4 separate regions of the Homo sapiens genome follow, and all the other regions are linked to region 3. The links are contacts of gene promoters, found by promoter capture Hi-C in blood cells and fetal thymus (Javierre and others, 2016). All regions are on one chromosome and are shown on one strand. Each heading gives the region's core, a stretch centred on a gene start or on the middle of the fragment in contact. The rest is flanking DNA. Distances are from core to core; before and after follow the strand shown.

Region 1 (2,700 bases), core at 59-2,558, 350 kb before region 3:
GCAACCCCAGAAATGGGCGACTTCAAGGAGGCGGGAGATAACATCCCCTCCAGGGGGCGACGTCCAAGAGCATATTGTGTGGCTGCGTGCACTGAGTAGAGCTCAACGCCCGGGACCTAAAAAAAAAAAAAAAAAAGGGCGTGGAGCCGGAGGGTCGGTCCCAGCTCGGGGCATGACGTCACAACCTGCGCCGCCGCGCAAGGAAGGCCCGCGAGCCGCCTCCGCCGGAAGGGGAGGTGCGGCTGGCCCGGTTTCCTGGCGACGCGGCCCTGCAGGCGGTTGCGTTCCCCGTCGTTACCCTCTTTCTCTTCCCGACGCGTGAGTTAGGCCGTAATGCCTTGGCTGCTCTCAGCCCCCAAGCTGGTTCCCGCTGTAGCAAACGTCCGCGGCCTCTCAGGTTAGACTCTTCTCCCACGGTCTCCTCCCATGGTGTCCCCTGGAGGGACCCAAGTTGGTCTCAGGCGATCCCTGGTTCGGCTGACCCTTCTCCTGGTGGGGCCTCCGCTCCCCAACCCTCTGTGCTCCGCGGATTTCTTCTATACCGGCTGCTCCTGGAAAGGGGTGGGCCCAGTGTGTTCTCTACCGTTGAGGTATTTTGTGAAGCCGAAATGACTGCAGAGAGAAAAGTGTGCCATCCCCCAGAGGGGCTGTCTTCCAAGTTACTCGGACTCCGAAGTTGTGGCAATTATCACACTTAAGTGACAAAGTGTCTCACATCAAGTAGCTCTTGTTTCTGTTAGGCGTGAGAGCTTGCTCCAGAATATACACGAAGCATGTTTAGTAACAAATTCTTTCAGCAGCTCCTCTTAGGAGAGGTAACTGTTTCGAAATACTTCTGGGGCGTTCTGTGTCTGAAAGTCCTGTTTGCAAAGACAAGACGAAGGATAAGGAGAATAATTTTTTGTAGGGTGTCCTCTATTGCGAGCAATTAATCTGATGAACATAAAGCTTAATCAGTGAAAACTGAATCACCTTCCTTGCAGGCGGATCTGCCATTGGATCGTATTTCAGTTTTTTGGGTCAATATATGAACAATGTGTGAACCAGAACGTATGGTATTTGACATCAAAGCTATGTCTTGGCATATGTTTATGTTGATATACTTGAATTCATTTAAAATGGAATGTTAATTACATCGACTTCTTACTATAAAAAATAAAAAGTTATTGTCCAGTGCACAGAACTTGTTCTTCAGTTCTCATAGTAAAGCTGCAGAAAGACAACTCTCCGTGGGATTAGGTGAAAAGAAAGATGTGCAATTTTTCAGTCTTTTTTTGAGACAGGCTCTCATTCTGTTGCTCAGACTGGAGTGCAGTGGCAATCTCTGCTCATTTGCAACCTCTGCCTCCTGAGTTCAAGCAATTCTCGTGCCTCAGCCTCCCGAGGTAGCTGGGATTATAGGCGTGTGCCACCACGCCTGGCTAATTTTTGTAATTGTAGTAGAAACCAGGTTTTGCCACGTTGGCCAAGCTGATCTCGAACTCCTGGCCTCAAGCGATCCACCCTCCTCTCTGAGCCACCGCCCCAGGCCTGGAATTTGCTTTTATTTGAAAGGCTCTCCCCAGCCTGACTAAAGGAGCCATACTACCAGAAGGAACACTTGCAAAGGCACAGAACTCTAAAACGGAGTGGCCAGCACTAAGCGTTGCAATCGTTTAGTATGGCTGGAGAAGCTTTTTTTTTTTTTTTTTTTTTTTTGAGACAGAGTCTTGCTCTTGTCGCCCAGGCTGGAGTGCAGTGGCGCGATCTCTTGCCTTACTGCAACCTCCACCTCCCGAGTTCAAGCGATTCTCCTGTCTCAGCCTCCCGAGTAGCTGGGATTACAGGCGCCCGCCACCACGCCTGGCTAATTTATGTGTTTTTAGTAGAGATGGGGTTTCACCATCTTGGCCAGGCTGGTTTTGAACCCCTGACCTCGTGATCCACCCGCCTCGGCCTCCCAAAGTGCTGGGATTACAGGCGTGAGCCACCGCGCCCGGCTTAGGAAAAGATTTTTTGAAAGATGTTCTCAAACAAAATAGTAGGCATTACACGAAAATGATTCTGTGATCAAATACTTTTGGGGAATGCTGCCTTTCATAATGTACATAATAGTTTAATTCTTTTTTTGGAGATGGGGTCTTGCCATGTTGCCCAAAGTAAACTTGAACTCTCACCTCAGCTTCTCAAAGTGTTGCGATTATAAGTGTGAGCCACTGCACCCAGCCCTTAATAGTCTAGGTTTCTGAGAGATGTGTTCCGCAGTAATTTGCAAAATGTGTAAAAATGTATTTGACCATGGACCCCTTTTCTGTGATGAATCTTGAACTGGTATCCCTGGAACAGATTTTGGGAGAAGTTGGGCTAGAGCATAAGATGAGTACAAGGAGCTGATAGGAAATCAAGTTGGGAAAAAAGCTGGTGGCTGGCTCGTGGAGGGCCTTGTATATTATGTTAAGCAAACAATTAGCTTTTTCCTTTAGATGGTGGGAAAACTTTGAGGAATTTTAAGCTATTGAGTAAGATGATTAAATCTAAATTTTTGGTTTTCTGTTAAGAGTGAAGAAATGGACTACAGGGCATGTCATTACATTCTTAAATTTTCTGAGACACTGATTTTTGCTTTAGTTTTTGGAAAATTGCAATTTTTTTTTCAACTTTACTACCACATGCATGATAACAGATAAACTCTACTAAATATCACATCTTATATTAGAAGCA
Region 2 (2,700 bases), core at 12-2,511, 370 kb before region 3:
TAAAAGAAAAAAGTAAAAAGATAAAATCAATTTAAAGGATAAGATAAATTAATTTTATTCCATTGATTTTCTTTTATCCATTAAATTAAAAAGAAAAAATTAAGCTTAGAAAGGAAAAGTAACCCATGTTAACTTCACAGGGCTGATTTTAAAAGAAAACAACAATATGCTTATTATTTGAATTCAAAGAAATGGTACAAAAATTCAAGAAAACTAGAATTCATAAAAGACCATAACCTATACTTTAATTCATTTTGTCCTATTCTCATAGTTAGCTTCTTTACTAATCCCTTATGTCATTCAACAAATAAAACACCCTATAGAATCAGAAGAGTTCTTTGCACAAAGTCTAAATCTTGGGGAGGCAAGACAAATACAGAATTTTTTTTAAGAGACAGGGTCTAACTCTCACATAGGCTAGAGTACAGTGGCATGATCATAGCTCACAGGCTGAAGTGATCATCCCACCTCAGCTTCCTGAGTAGCTGGGAATACAAGCCCACAACACTAAACCTGGCTAATTAAAAAAAATTTTTTAGAGACTGGGCCTCACTGTGTCACCTAGGCTGCTCTCGAACTCCTGGGCTCCAGTAATCCCCCCAACTCAGCCTTCTGAGTAGCTGGGATTACCACTGTGCCAGGCCGAACACAGAAATTTTTAAATAAATGTCACAATTCACTGTGAAAGATACTTAGCCAGTTAGCGAATGAGTAAAGGACTTGAAAAGAACTCACAAAAACAACACAGAAAAATGCTCAGTCTTATTAATTACTACTACAGGTATCTATTATAGGTAATTACACTTAAATGTCTAATAAACAACTCAGACCTACCATGTTCAAAACCTAAATTTTTTTTATGACAGGGTCTTGGCTGGGCACAGTGGCTCACGCCTGTAATCTCAGCACTTTGGGAGGCCGAGGCAGGTGGATCACCTGAGGTCGGGAGTTCAAGACCAGCCTGACCAACATGGAGAAATACCAAGACCAGCCTGACCAACGTGGAGAAACCCCGTCTCTACTAAAAATATAAAATTAGCCGCATATGGTGGCGCATGCCTGTAATCCCAGCTACTCAGGAATCTGAGGCAGGAGAATCGCTTGAACCCGGGAGGCGGAGGTTGCGGTGAGCCAAGATCGTGCCATTGCACTCCAGTCTGGGCAACAAGACTGAAACTCCATCTCAAAAAAAAAAGGTCTTGCTCTGTCACCCAGGTTGGAGTGCAGTGACACAATCACAGCTCACTGCACCCTCAACTTCCTGGGCTCAAAGGATCCTCCCAGCCTCAAGGGAACCTCCCATCTCAGCCTCTCAAGTAGCTCATATTACAGAAACGTGCTACCACATCCAGCTAATTTTTTGTGTTTAAGAGATGGAGTCTCACTGTGTTGACCAGGCTGATCTTGGACTCTTGGACTCAAGAGATCCTTTCGCTTCGGCCCCTCAAAGTGCTGGGATTGTTAAGTGTGAACCACCACGCCCACTCAAAACCGAAAAACTGAATTCCCATTTCCTAGCCCATTTCCAAATCTATTCCCAATCTGTATCTTCCCAACTAAACAAATGGCTCCTCCATACATTTAGTTCAGGAGTTGGTAAACGTTTTCTGGAAAGGGCCAAATAAGAATTATTTTAATCTCTGCAGACCATACAATCTGTCATAACTACTCAATGATGCTGTTGTAGTGGGAAAGCAGCCACAGTTAAGTGCCAGACGTGGGATTCAAACCATACCACTCTGGCTCCATACTCCAGGTTTTAATTACATTCTCCAAACAAAACTGCCTTCACCAACCTTGGTGGAGCTTGGATTCACAACCCCTGCTTTAGAATACTAATCTTTTATCCTTTAGAATACACTATACAATTGCATAAATTCTAAAATCAGAACTAGATTAAATTTACAAAGGCACATGAACAGAGAGTTCAGAAAAAAGTGAGAAAACAAAAACATGATTAGGTGATAGCCTCATTTTCCTTTTGTTACATATTGCCGAGACAGTAAATTTTAAAATGGGCTGGGCACAGTGCCTCACACCTGTAATCCTAGCACTTTCAGATGCTGAGCTTGGGAGGCCTGCTTGAGGGCAGGAGTTCAAGACGAGCCTGGGCAACAGGATGAAACCCTATCTCTACCAAAAAAAAAAAAAAGAGATAATAATTAGCCAGGCATGGTGGCAGGCACCTGTATTGCCAGCTACTCAGGAAGATTGCTTGAGCCTACAAAACTTGAGGCTGCAGTGAGCCATGACCATGCCACTGCACTCCAAACTGAGTGGCAGAGTAAGACTCTGTCTCTTAAAATTTAGGTGGTAGGGAAATTAGCAAAAGTTTCGTGCGATGAAAAGGAATGGTACAGAAGAGCAATGGCTGGGAACAACTGATAGGTATGAATTAAAAGTTGAAATATGTGAAGAAAAGCTTTCCAGAGAAACAGTATAGCATAAATAAAAAAAAAAAAAAAATTCTAGAACAGTAAAGTCTGACTGGAGAAAACAAGATTGGAGAAGTAAAATACAGGATCTTAGTCTGGCAGGTCTATAATCCTCTGATGAAGATCTTAAATATATATGCAAAAGTTAATCACAGGTTACAAGCAAGAGTAGAATAAAAAACAGCTCTAAGAATAACCTAGGGAAAGTAAACAGAAAGCAATAAAGGAATAAATTTTTCAGGAAGGTAAACTATTAAGGCAACTG
Region 3 (2,700 bases), core at 152-2,651:
GTGACCAGTTGAAGGGCTGCTGCAATGGGCCGGTGGCTTGTATTAGAGTGGTAGTGGTGGAGGAAATACAGGATATATTTTGGAGGTAGAAAAACCAACACGTTGACAGCATGGATACAGGGGTTTAGGGTGGAAGGGGTTGAAGGAAAGAAAGACCTCTAGGAAGAGTTTGACATCTCCACGGCGGACTTCAAATTTAGGCATATATTTTATATGTATTCAGCCTCCACATATTGCATTTAGAGTCTCAATTAATTCACTGGGACACGGCATGGCATAGGGAAGGAATCTGTACTAAATTTGGAATCCCAATCCTGTGTGATCTTGGAAAGTGCCTAAACCTGAAGTGGTGAAGAGCCACCACTTCCTCTTCTTTCAAACGGTGATAGGATGTCTAAGGGTTTGAAAAGATGTTTGCAAAGCTCCACAACAGCACCTAGAACTCAGGGTGTCTAAGGAGGTTGTGGGAAACCCTAACGGGATGAGGCAGAGAGCCTCAGATTCGAGGTTTTTACCCAGGAGAGAGTGGTGAAGGAGGAATGTTGTAAGATTTTGAGCAGGCTGGACATTTACAGTATTGAGAAAAAGAATATTCCAGTTTCAGCCGGGCGCGGTGGTTCACGCCTGTAATCCCAGCACTTTGGGAGGCCGAGGCGGGTGGATCCCGAGGTCAGGAGTTCAAGACCAGCCTGGTGAAACCCCGTCTCTACTAAAAAATACAAAAATTAGCCGGGCTTGGTGGTGGGCGCCTGTAGTCCCAGTTACTTGGGAGGCTGAGGCAGGAGAATCGCTTGAACCTGGCAGGCGTAGGTTGCAGTGAACCGAGATCGCGCCACGGCACTCCAGCCTGGGCGACAGGGCAAGACTTCGTCTCAAGAAAACACACACACACACACACACACACACACACACACACACACACACACACACAGAGTATTCCAGTTTCTTCCTTTTTTTTTTCTTTTTAATCTGGAGTAGTCCAGTTTCTGCCTGAGTTGGAAATGAGTCCCTCTGCTATGCATCCCAGCAAAAGGGCACCTTAAATATCTAACCCGGGAGAGTACGAGGTTATTCCTGGAGTCTGGAACAGTGACTATCATAGGTGCTCAATAACCGTTTAGGGAAGAATAACATCCAGTGAAGTCAAGAGGTTGGCGTAATTGGAACACTCGGCGTGAGGCGCACCAGGTTTCCAGCGCCCCTGGTTTCCACGTCGCTATGGTAACGACTCACCCTGCACACATGCGAACTACAATTCCCATAACCGCCCGCGGCTTCCCCGCCCACAGGGAGAGAATGGCGGGAGCAGGCACGGAACCGGCTTTTCCTCCTTCCTGCAGCGTGATTGGCCCGCGGCTCAGGGAGGCGACCAATGAGTGCTCTCGCGGAGAGCGACGGGGCAGGCCAATATGGCTTCCTGCACCTGGTGACGCTTGGCGAAACTGAGGTCTCATGGAGAAGCCCCGGAGTATTGAGGTGAGAAGGCGAGGACTTAGCGTGACTGGGAAAGGGAACTCCGAGAGCCTCGCTCCGTGGGCCCTTCTTTAGGGCTTTTAGCGACGCCTGGAGGGTGGAGGGTGGGAGGATGGATAAACTGAGGTAGTTAAACTGAGCCAGGGGCAGAGGCAATTGACGTTACTTTTTGCCCCTCTCCTGCTGGGGCCAACGTTCGGCGAGGAGTTCAGGGAGGAACAGCCGTCCCTGGCCTGGGGGAAAGGGAACTAGGTTTAGGATCTGAGAGCTCCTGAATCTTCCTTATCCTGCTTGTCTCGTGGCTGTGTTGTTTAGGGCTTGTGAGGCCTGTTACATGAGGTGGGAAGTGAAGGGAGATTAAAGTTGGGTGAACATCACTCCTTGTCTGTAACGTTCACGTGCATTATCTTCCAGTACACTCACAGCAATCATGTATTATTCTTTCGTCTTTGTCGTTCAAGCCACTGAGGCTTAGAGGTGGTGCGACACCCCAGGAAGTTACCCCGGCTGGAAAGTGAAGGAGATTGGCACTAAGTCTGTCCGCCTCTGAAACTTTGCCTGTTATGCTTTTCACACTGTACTGCAACCTGGAACCCACTCATCCTTTTTTTTTTTTCTTTCAGACGGAGTCTTGCTCTGTCACCTAGGCTGGAGTGCAGTGGCGCGATCTCGGCTCACTGCAACCTCCGTCTCCCGGGTTCAAGCAATTCTGTCTCCATCTCCCATGTTCCTGGGATTACAGGCATGTGTCACCACACCCGGCTAATTTTTGTATTTTTAGTAGAGACGAGGTTTTGCCATGTTGGTCGGATTGGTCTCGAACTCCTGACCTCAGGTGATCTGTCTGCTTCACCTCGGCCTCCCAAAGTGCTGGGATTACAGGCATGAGCCACTGCACCCCGCCTCATCCTTTAATCATTTGGTTTCTGGGCACCTTATATTTAAGAGACGGGGTGTTCCTATGTTGCCCTGGCTGGAATGCAGTGGTTACTCACAGGCGTGATGACAACGCACTGCAGCCTCTAACTCTTGGGCTCAAGCAATCCTTACACCTCAGCCTCCTAAGTAGCTGGGACTATAGGTGGTCTCTGTCACCCTGCCTGACAAGGGTACCTATATTTGAATTGTTTCCTTGCTGGGTGCGGTGGCTCACGCCTGTAATCCCAGCACTTTGGGAGGCCGAGGCGGGCAGATCACGAGGTCAGGAGATCGAGACCATCCTGGCTA
Region 4 (2,700 bases), core at 130-2,629, 330 kb before region 3:
GCCAAAGGAGTAATGTTGTCATTAGCAGGACAGCAAGACATTCATCTCAAAAAAACACTGAAACATATCAGAGAATGAACGGGAAGAATCAGTGGAATTCCTAATGAAGCATTATTTCTAAAATTTTTACATTCTTAAAATTAGTTTTAGAATATGTGGTATAGTTTGGAATGCTAGGTTTAAAAAGGGCTACTCAGGGAGTTGGGCTTGTCAGAATAACTTGTCTGACATATGTAGAACCACTTCATGGTTGTTTTCTTTTTCTTTTTCTTTTTCTTTTTTTTTTTTTTTTTTTTTTTTTGAGACAGAGTCTCGCTCTGTCGCCCAGGCTGGAGTGCAGTGGCGTGATCCGGCTCACTGCAACCTCCGCCTCCCAGATTCAAGCAATTCTCCTGCCTCAGCCTCCAGAGTAGCTGGGACTACACGTGTGCGCCACCACACCTGGCTAATTTTTGTATTTTTAGTAGAGAGGGGGTTTCACCATATTGGTCAGGCTGGTTTTGAACTCCTGACCTTGTGATCTGCCTGCCTTGGCCTCCCAAAGTGCTGGGATTACATGCGTGAGCCACCATGCCTGGCCCACTTCTTGGTTTTCAACTACAGCAGCAAACAGATTTTTAGGGAAATAATCAGAATGCAACTGTGTGGCATGAAATATAAGACGATGCTTTCACCATTTACCGTTTCATCTCTATCGTCAACTATAATGGCAGAAGCCAGGTGCGGTGGCTCACGCCTATAATCCCAGCACTTTGGGAGGCCTGGGCAACGTAGTGAGACCTTATCTCTGCAAAAAAGTAAGCAAAATTAGCTGAGTGTGTTGACAGATGTCTGTAGTCCTAGCTACGCCTATAATCCCAGCACTTTGGGAAGCTGAAGTAGGAGGATTGTTTGAGCCTGGGAAGTCAAGGCTGCAGTCAGCTGAGATTGTGCCACTCCACTTCAGCCTAGGCAACCGAGCAAGACCGTCTCAAAAATAAAATAAAATAGAAATAAAATAAATAAATAAATATAATGGCAGAGACAGTACAGTTACAGTGAATATAATATTTAAAATGATGAAATGATTGATTCTAGAGTGGGTTATAGATAATAATCCCCAAATCTTTTTCCCTTAAGAGTTTCAAAATCAGCTGCCCATCTTTCAGTGATAGTTTAATTGTAGCCGTCTCTTGAGCAAGGGATGCATTTTATTTTTAAAACTTGTTAAATATGGTTGATTTTAATAATATCTAAAAGACAAAGCTTATTTTGGTGGTGGTAAGATTTTTATACTATTTAAAAGATTAAAATGATGCTTGATAACAACTTTGGGGAGTTAGGAAGAAAAATAAAAAATAAATAAAATGATGCTTGAGACCAGGAGGTCAAGGCCGTAGTGAGCCATGATTGCGCCACTGCACTCTAGCCTGGGTGACAGAGTGTTACCCTATCTCAGAAGAATTTAAAAAATTAAAAGGAATCAAGAAATAACAGAAATTGGAAGTGGTTTGAACCTGCCTAGACTGTTGGGTAAGCTTTTTCAAAATATACATACGTGCTAGGACTCTATAAATAGAGTTGTTGAATGAGAATCTCAAAGGGAGGGCTTAGAACATGTGTTTTTGTTTTTGTTTTTTTTGAGACAGGGTCTCACTCTGTTTCCAAGGTTGGAGTACAGTGCCGAGATCATGGCTCACTGGAGTCTTGACCTCCGGGGGTCAAACAATCTTCCTGTCTCAACCTCCTGAATAGCTGGGACTACAGGCATGCACCATCATGCCCAGCTAATTTTTATATTTTTTATAGAGATAAGGTCTCACTATGTTGCCCAGGCTGGTCTTGAACTCCTGGACTCAAGCAATTCTACCACCTTGGCCCCCCAAAGTGCTGGAATTATAGGCATGAGCCACCATACCCAACCGGAACATGTGTTTTGAAGAGCTCCCCGGGCGTTTCTCACATACACCACTAACCTAGTGGGTACTCATTTAGCTAGGTGCATGAGATGCCTGATGACTTAAGGGGACAAGCCAGTTCTGTGGCCATTGGTCATGTTTTAAAGCAGAGAATGTGCCTTCCACATGCCTCTGTAGTCTCATCCCCAGTCACTCAGTCCTTAAATTCATTCACATCTTTATCATCATCACCACCATCAATAAGTGATGACGTTACATTTATCTAACCATTTCAACACTTTTTTAATAGATTATACCTGATAGAATAGTAGACTAAAAGTTTTGTATCCTACAGGTTTTAAATTTAAGTTGAAGGTCTACTTTTTCTATAAGTACTTCACCATGAAGCCCACCTGTTTTATAAAGTAATATATTTTATTTTCTCACCCCAATGTACCTATGTAATTTTATTTGTTTTTGTTTTTGCTTTTTTTGAGATGGGGTCTTGCTCTGTCTCCCAGGCTAAACTGCAGCGGCATGATCATATCTCACTGCAGTCTCGACCTCCCAAGCGATCCTCCCACTTCAGTTTCCCAAGTAGCTAGGACTACAGGCATAAGCCACCATGCCTGGCTAATTTTTTAAATTTTTGTAGAGATGGGATCTCACTTTGTTGCCAGGGCTTACTTATATAATTTTTTTAAATCACTGTATTCATAGTGATTAAATGTTTCCTCTTGTCTTCATCTCCTGATTCAATTTTAATGCAGAATAAATAATGTAGTCTCTATGTAAATAAATTTATAGATGAATAAACCTGTTT

What was found. Contacts are between HindIII fragments. The CHiCAGO score rates a contact against its expected background, and 5 or more counts as called.
Region 1: a fragment that was not itself captured here is called in contact with the fragment with the promoter of L3MBTL2 in region 3 in 10 of 17 cell types (naive CD8 T cells, naive CD4 T cells, monocytes and 7 more); the score reaches 9.6 in naive CD8 T cells.
Region 2: a fragment that was not itself captured here is called in contact with the fragment with the promoter of L3MBTL2 in region 3 in 1 of 17 cell types (M1 macrophages); the score reaches 5.1 in M1 macrophages.
Region 4: a contact is called between a fragment that was not itself captured here and the fragment with the promoter of L3MBTL2 in region 3, in 1 of 17 cell types (M2 macrophages). The highest score is 5.2, in M2 macrophages.

What each region holds. Positions count from the first base shown.
Region 1 is chr22:40,856,849-40,859,548 of GRCh38, forward strand. It overlaps XPNPEP3 (X-prolyl aminopeptidase 3), which reads left to right and starts at 300. Exons shown (of 10, transcript NM_022098.4): 1 at 300-397. The coding sequence starts at 334. RefSeq lists enhancers at 1-288, 1-135, 146-605. The HindIII fragment of the contact is 725 bases long and covers 947-1,671 here.
Region 2 is chr22:40,836,462-40,839,161 of GRCh38, forward strand. All of the region lies in intron 5 of ST13 (ST13 Hsp70 interacting protein), which reads right to left. Among named protein-coding and RNA genes, the nearest start is that of SLC25A17, 18 kb to the left of the region's middle. The HindIII fragment of the contact is 2,318 bases long and covers 103-2,420 here.
Region 3 is chr22:41,203,911-41,206,610 of GRCh38, forward strand. L3MBTL2 (L3MBTL histone methyl-lysine binding protein 2) reads left to right here and starts at 1,402. Exons shown (of 17, transcript NM_031488.5): 1 at 1,402-1,476. The coding sequence starts at 1,453. RefSeq lists an enhancer at 2,246-2,700. The HindIII fragment of the contact is 3,698 bases long and covers 1-2,700 here.
Region 4 is chr22:40,872,823-40,875,522 of GRCh38, forward strand. All of the region lies in intron 2 of XPNPEP3 (X-prolyl aminopeptidase 3), which reads left to right. LOC124905124 (a long non-coding RNA gene) reads right to left here. Exons shown (of 3, transcript XR_007068111.1): 3 at 2,525-2,700. Among named protein-coding and RNA genes, the nearest start is that of DNAJB7, 12 kb to the left of the region's middle. The HindIII fragment of the contact is 272 bases long and covers 1,244-1,515 here.